Regions from separate parts of the Homo sapiens genome. Here region 1 is linked to region 2. Evidence: promoter capture Hi-C in human tissues and cell types (Jung and others, 2019). All regions are on one chromosome and are shown on one strand. Each heading gives the region's core, a stretch centred on a gene start or on the middle of the fragment in contact. The rest is flanking DNA. Distances are from core to core; before and after follow the strand shown.

Evidence for each region. Contacts are between HindIII fragments. The study calls those that stand out against the background at their distance.
Region 1: a contact is called between a fragment that was not itself captured here and the fragment with the promoter of CDH20 in region 2, in 4 of the 25 tissues and cell types used here (IMR-90 fibroblasts, aorta, mesenchymal stem cells and 1 more).

What each region holds. Positions count from the first base shown.
Region 1 is chr18:60,856,566-60,860,374 of GRCh38, reverse strand. No RefSeq gene overlaps it. Among named protein-coding and RNA genes, the nearest start is that of CDH20, 470 kb to the left of the region's middle. The HindIII fragment of the contact is 7,873 bases long and covers 1-3,809 here.
Region 2 is chr18:61,331,283-61,334,778 of GRCh38, reverse strand. It overlaps CDH20 (cadherin 20), which reads right to left and starts at 1,349. Exons shown (of 12, transcript NM_031891.4): 1 at 952-1,349. The HindIII fragment of the contact is 19,388 bases long and covers 1-3,496 here.

The DNA of each region.
Region 1 (3,809 bases), core at 115-2,614, 470 kb after region 2:
TTCTCAGGCCCCATCTCTTCCCTCCCTTCCTCTCTTTCCCTGTACTCCAGCCATCTGGACCTCCTCCTCTTCCTAGAATGCACCAGGGATGCTTCTGCCTCAGTCTTTGAACTTGCAGTTCTGTGTTTGCTCATGTAGCCAAATGACCAGCTCCTTTATTTTCTTCAGAGCTTTCCTCAAGATTAGCTTCTTGGTTAATACCTCCCTGGATGCTTCATCTCAGCTTCTGATCTGAACCCTATTACTTCCTCTCCCTTTTCTTAATTTTTCTTGTTAGCACTTATCAGTTATAAAGCCGCTGCATTAGTCAGCTTGGCTTCCATAAAAAAACACCACAGGATGGTGGCTTAAACAACAGAAATATACATCCTCACTCATCTGGAGGTTCTAAGTCCCTATCAAGGTGTCAGCAGATTGGATTCCTGGTGAGAGCTGTCTTCCTGGCTTGCAGATGAGTGGCACCTTGCTGTGTCCTCACAAGGCCTCTCAATCTCAGAGAACTATCTGGTGGTGTCTCTTTATAAGCACACATGTCCTGTGGGATCAAAACCCTACCTAATGACCTCTCTTAATCTTATTCCCTCCCTAAAGTTTCTCTCTCTAAATATTTGTCACTTTGAGGGTTAGACCTTCAACATATGTATATTGGGAGGTACAAAATTCAGTTTGTAACAGCAGCCTTAATCGAATATTTCATATTTTGTTGTTCATTGTCTATTATCCTATTAGAATATAAGCTTCATGAGTGCAAAGACTTTAGTTTGTTTTCTTCACTGTTTTCTTCTAGCACTTAGAGTATTTCCTGTGGCATAGAGGATATTTAATAAATGTGTATGAATTATCTGAAATCCTGATGTGAAGTATAAAAAACGAGTTGTCATTTCATACCTAAAACATCATTTCAAAATCTTCAAATTATAAAATTGCACTACAAGTTTTTCATGAACAAGTATGTGTGTAGTAATATACTTTTAAAAATTGGAAGACTGCCAATGTCAAGACAATTAATTACTTCCCTGAAGAGCAGAAGGAACATGAAATTAGAGAGTGGTTAAAGCAGCTCTAACTGTAGCTATAATGAAATAAAAGATTTAACTTTTAAAAATAATACTTGAAACAAATATGAAAATTTTAACATTTGTGAAACCTGGAGATAATACAGGAATATGTGATATGTTTTCATTTATGTTTCTATGTTTTAAATATTTTAAGACAGAGAGAGATAAGTAGAGCTCCTATAAGAGAGAAGACCATGTCTGTTTTGTTCTTGCATGTACCTCAAACTCTTAAAAAGGATGATGGCCCATAGTAGAACCTCAGTGAATACTCAGTGAATGGATGAAGGTTCAGAATATTTAGGCTTATTTATCTTTGGTTCCGAACATAATACTTGGTACATAGGTACAGATAAACAAATACACAAGCAAATAAGCAAGAAAACAAGTAGATGAACAAAAACATGTTTAAAATGATAAACAAGTCTCCCTAAGTGTCCTAGCCTCATTCTTCCCCTCTTTCTGTTCCTTTTATACTACTTAGCAATGCTGTATGTGTCTTGGCTTCCCAGTTCTGCTATCTCCCTCTCTGTTCTCAACCCTCATTTACTTTTCTGCCAAAAGATACAAGCAGAAGCCACTGGAGAAAGAGCTTGGGGGACTAGTATGGTTTATGGTCAAGGCCCTGGCCTTCTGTATCTTCTCCATACACTGTGAAGGCATTTGGGACCCCTCTTTGAACTTGAACTTCTGCATGAGTCCTCCCTCATTGGTTCCGATGGATTGTTTTGCCTAAAACTGCAGTCCTGTGGACCTTACAAAGAGTGGCAACAGAAACCTGTTCTTTGCAGCTCTGCTTAATTCATGCCAAAACCCGTTGTTAAGATGACTTTCTGTCCAGTCTCACAGCCAAATGCCCCACATTTGGCCAGATAAAGTCTATTTTCTCCCAAAATTCCATATACAGTTTCTCTTAAAAAGAAGTGTGCTTCTACTTTTTCTAATAATCTAAAAGTCATGTATTTATATTTACCTTTCACAGGTGATAGATTCTAGCAAAACTTGAGAGTCTCTATGTTCCTTTATTTTGCCTAATTATGAGTACTTTAAGTATGTTTGGGCCAATCTATCTAAGTCATTTCTGCCTTAATTTGATACAAACAAGCAAAAGTCATGTTATTAAGGGGACTGTGAAAACATTCAAAGAAAGTCATTCTCTCTCACAGACTCTCGGTCCACGTTAATTAGGAAAACAACAATCAGTCTTTCACATTCACATCTCTAACCTTTTATCTCTTTTCATACTTAGCCATGGGGAAAGTGATGACTCTAGGGATTAAAAAGATAAAAGAATTTAGAGTTATAAATTAAGATCCTTTATCTGATAAATACCAAGCCAGAAATTAGAACCCTCAACCTCACAAAACCCGAAAAAAATAGATTTCTAATGTATTAAAGAAGTTTAAAAACTAAATCATAAGGAAATGAATAATATATCAAGTATTTGTCAGATCTCCAGATGGTAGACTTTCTTAGTTTAAAAGTGACAGCAAGCACACATAGAAAAAAGTGGACTATTTGGCTGCATAACCCTTTAAAACTTGTGTATGATTTTTATTTCAAAAAGACAAAAATACAGAATTGAAAACAAAAGATAAACAATAAACTGAAGAAACTATTTGAAACAAATATAGTATCTTTTATTATAAAAAGAGTCTATTCCTATTGATGCCAAAACACTAAGACCCTTTAAGCTAATAAAAAATCGAACAACCTGGGCAGCCAATTCATAAATGAGAAACTACATTTATTATAAAAGTAAATTTAAAAATCCACCCACTTATTAATAACAAAGGAAATCAATTTAACAAAAAACATTTAAAGTAATATTAAGAAATCTGTTCAAATTTGGTTAAGCAAGTAATATTATATATTACTAATGGGAATGCAAATTGAATTACTGTGGAAAACAATCTTAAATTTAAAAATGTAAAAGTCTTCCTAATTATTGACCTAGTAATGCCATTTCTCAGAATTTAAGAAATCGTTCTAGTTTACAGTCCCACCAACAGTGTAAAAGTTTTCCTATTTCTCCACATCCTCTCCAGCACCTGTTGTTTCCTGACTTTTTAATGATCGCCATTCTAACTGGTGTGAGATGGTATCTCATTGTGGTTTTGATTTGCATTTCGCTGATGGCCAGTGATGATGAGCATTTTTTCATGTGTCTTTAAAATGATGAGTTCATGTCCTTTGTAGGGACATGGATGAAGCTGGAAACCATCATTCTCAGCAAACTATTGCAAGGACAAAAAACCAAACACCACATGTTCTCTCATAGGTGGGAATTGAACAATGAGAACTCATGGACACAGGAAGGGGAACATCACACACTGGGGCCTGTTGTGCGGTGGGGGGAGAGGGGAGGAGGGAGGGATAGCATGAGGAGATATACCTAATGTTAAATGACGAGTTAATGGGTGCAGCACACCAACATGGCACATGTACACATAGGTAACAAACCTGCACGTTGTGCACACGTACCCTAAAAGTTAAAGTATAATTAAAAAGAAAAAGAAATGATTCTGAATACAGGAATTTAAAAAGCACCTTTATAGCCAAAGCTGTGCACCGAGTATTAATCATCACAGTGGAAATTTGAAAATAGTCTCCTAGGTTTCTGGATTATTTTAGCTATAATATATTACATTCATTTATGGCTATATATTTAAAAAAAGCCAAAGACAGAGTAACAATGAAGGAAGACTACTTAAAAACATTTAATGTATCAAATATGTAATGGATTAAGGAATA
Region 2 (3,496 bases), core at 100-2,599:
TGGTACTATCCCCTCTCACTTCCAGCCTGGTCTCGGCAGAAACAAACAAAACAAAACAAGGCTCTGACGCTGCCTCCGGGCTGCCTTCCAGATTTCAGCCCCCACTGCTGCCCCAGAGGCGGATAGCTAGGCAAAGGCTGCTGCAGTCTCTCCGATTGCTAAGGACACGTTGAGAGTCCTCGGTAACGTTCTCTTTGCAAATCTGAAACTTTAGCCCCATTTGACCCCCTTGCCCCCGGCTCTTCCCCCAGAGTAACTACAACAAGCAAAAACCAAACAGCGAGCGCAATTCAGAGCTTTCCTTGGGAGTGTCAGGGCCCGAGGACAGGAAATCCGGGGAGTTGGCGAAGTCCGGCAGGTGGCGGGGACTCGAGTACCCACCACATTCTCCTCCCACAGCCGAGCTCCGGCGGGGGCGCGGCGCGAGGCACGGACCAGGGATCGGCCCCGTAGGTGCCTGCGCCTCCCCGGAGCCTGGCTCTCTGGTCCCCTTCCCGGCGCACATCTCTGTGCGAGGGACGCGGCCACCCTGTCCCCTCTGCAGGCGGAGGGAGGCGCCACCGCCTGCGGGGCCAGCGAGGGTGAAGCCGTGCCAAGCGCCCCCACAAGCCGCGCTCCTGGATCCCCAGTCACCATCCCCAGGCGCGCGCAGTCCCCGCTCCCAGCGCGCCACGTCCTCCACCTGCCCCGGTGCGCCCCAGCTTCCCTGCTTCCAGAGAGCAGCTCCCCCAGTCCCGGCAGCCCATTTCCAACCCCTTCTCCCACTAAGTCCGAGGAAGTCGAACTCGGAGCGGCCGGTAGGCTCGTCGAGGTGGCAGGGAGTTGCTGGGAGAGCACAGCGCGGAGAGGGACCGCGCACGCCGCCCGGGGATTTCGCCCCAGAGGGCTGGCTCCGCGCGCCCGGAGTCCCAAGCCCCAGAAGCGGGGCCCGACCCGAGCCCTCTGCGTTACCTGGCACCGCCGGCGACTCTCCGGAGACCTTCGGTCCTAACTGCTCCAGGGCGGGCGTTCTGCTCACGTAGCTGCCTCCCCCACTGGGCGGCTGGTGCCCCGCTGGGTCTCTTCACCCCTGCTCGCGGCGCTGTCCCCGCCCCCCACCCCCCTACCCCCTCTGTCAGAAGTGTCACAGCTTTTCTGCCTTCGGATGTTTCGCAAAGTCTCCGTGCGGTTGCCAGGAGTTGGGGGGTACTGCCAAGTGCACCAACCCCGCCGATGCCCTGCCCTGCCCTCCCGCGGCCACCGCGTTCGGCCTGTCCAGTGAGAAGAGCCCCCTGGTCGCGGTCACCGTCCCCCGAGCGTGGCGCGCGGTCCGCTTCCCCTCCCTCGCGCCTTCCCTAGCAGGAGTGGCTGCTGCCTGCCTGTACCGCGGGTCCTCATTCCCCTGCTCATGAATATTCTGACAGAGGCTAATGCCGCTGAAGTAAATTGAATTAGCCAATTGGTGCCAGGAATGTGCGCTCCTTCCTTCTGAGGAGCTGTCTGGAACCCCACCAGATGAAAGCAATTAACGTCCGGTTGGCACCCTGTGGTTTAGACCAGTGAGGGGCAAAATGGGTTAATTCTTTAAATGCAGTTTAGATACCGCATTTAAATGTTTCAACTCCTCTATTGGCTGAGAGCGTAAGGAAATGTTAAGAGGGAGAGAGAAGAAAGGGGATGTGTGGACGTGGGGAGGGGGGCGGGGGTATTTACATCTAAACTTTCCCCTGAAGTTGAGGTAATTATTTTGCACAGATTCTGGAAGAGGCAATTGAGGAGTAGAACAGGATAAGGCAAATAAAATCAGAAAGGAAATGAGTACCAACTCGGGTTTAACCTTGACCTTGAGGGTGCAAAAGACATTGTTTTCAAGAGGAGAGGTAGGGGAAGATGGCATGTGTGAGGGAAACCTCACTCATCGACTTTTAAGAATTTCTTCAAATGCTCAGATTTCCTTTTCTTTTTGTCCTCATAGGAAAATCTTAGAGTTTTAAGCCTTTAACTAGAGATGGGGTGGAGGTATATTAAGGGTCAGAAATTTCTGAGGTGGAAGCTGAGACCACCCTTCTCTCCCAGATGAAGGGGGTCCCCCAAATCACACAATACTGTGACAGGCCCATTCCAGAAGGCAATTCCAGCTCTTATTTCTGAGGTCAGAATACACAAGGTCAAAAGGAGAGATCACCTCTCTCCTGTCCTGATTCCTACCCTAGAATGTCAAGTTACTGACGACAACTTGGGTTTCACAGTGGCTGGAGGGGGACTTTTTGCCCGATGTGGTTTCTACATTTCTCTTCAAGCAAGGTGCTTGGAGGATTTCCTCCCCCATCACTGATTGTAATAGAGCAAGTTATTTTGATTGAATTGATAGGTTACTAAATAATCTATTTGTACAACTGCTCTGTGGCCAAATGATCAATGTGTGTAAAGAACTGATAAAATGATATATATAAACATCCAATAAGATTCCCAAGTGTGTGACAATAGAAATAGTATCCCAGTTAAGGCAGTCATGCCATATTTTAATAGCTTTCAGCAGGCCTAGAATTAGAACTCATAGTTATAACAATGATTATTAATAGCAGAATAGCTAATGTTTATGGAGAACTTGTTATGTGACAGACATGTGTTACACATGTTATTTCATTTCATTTTTCCAACAACTCTATTCAGTCTAGACTATTATTTCTCTATTTTAATAGATGATGCAGATGTGGCTCAATAAAGTAAGGGCAGTTGACCCTTGAACAACATGGGGGTTAGGAGCACTGACCCTCGTGTAGTCAAAAATCCGCATATAACTTTTCACTCCAAAAACTTAACTACTAATAGCCTACTGTTGTCTGGAAACTTTATGGATAACATAAGCAGTCGACTAACACATATTTTATATGCTATACATTTTATATGCTGTATTCTTAACAATAGTCTGGAGGAAAGAAAATGATACTAAGGAAATAATAAGGAAAATGAAATGTATTTACTATTCATTAAGTGGAAGTGGATCATCATAAAGGTCTTCATCCTTGTTGGCTTCATGTTGAGCAGGTGAAGGAGAAGGAGGAAGAGGGAGGCTTGGTCTTGCCCTGTCAGGGATGACAGATGGGAGAAAATCCATGTCTAAGTGGACTCATAGAGTTCAAACTTTTGTTGTTCAAGGATCAACTGTAGTGTGTCCAGGTCATATAGCTCATAAGTGGGGAGATCAACTTTGACCCAAAGGACTCTGATTAGTGGTCCAGGGCCTTCCGGTCTCTAGCAGCTTAAACTGTCTTCTTGTCTAAAAAGAAAATCAGTTTCTTGGTGTTTTGTTGAAGTGACTTGTTTTTGGTGATCAATTTCTTACACAAAATTTAGAGAAAATCATGAGTCTTTTTTTTTTTTTTTGGATAGTGTGATGGTTAATTTTATGGGTCAACTTAACTGAGCCATAAGGTACTCAGATATCTGGTGGAACATTATCGTGGAAGTTTTTGTGAGAGTGTTTTTTGGATAAGATTAGCATCTAAATTGGCAG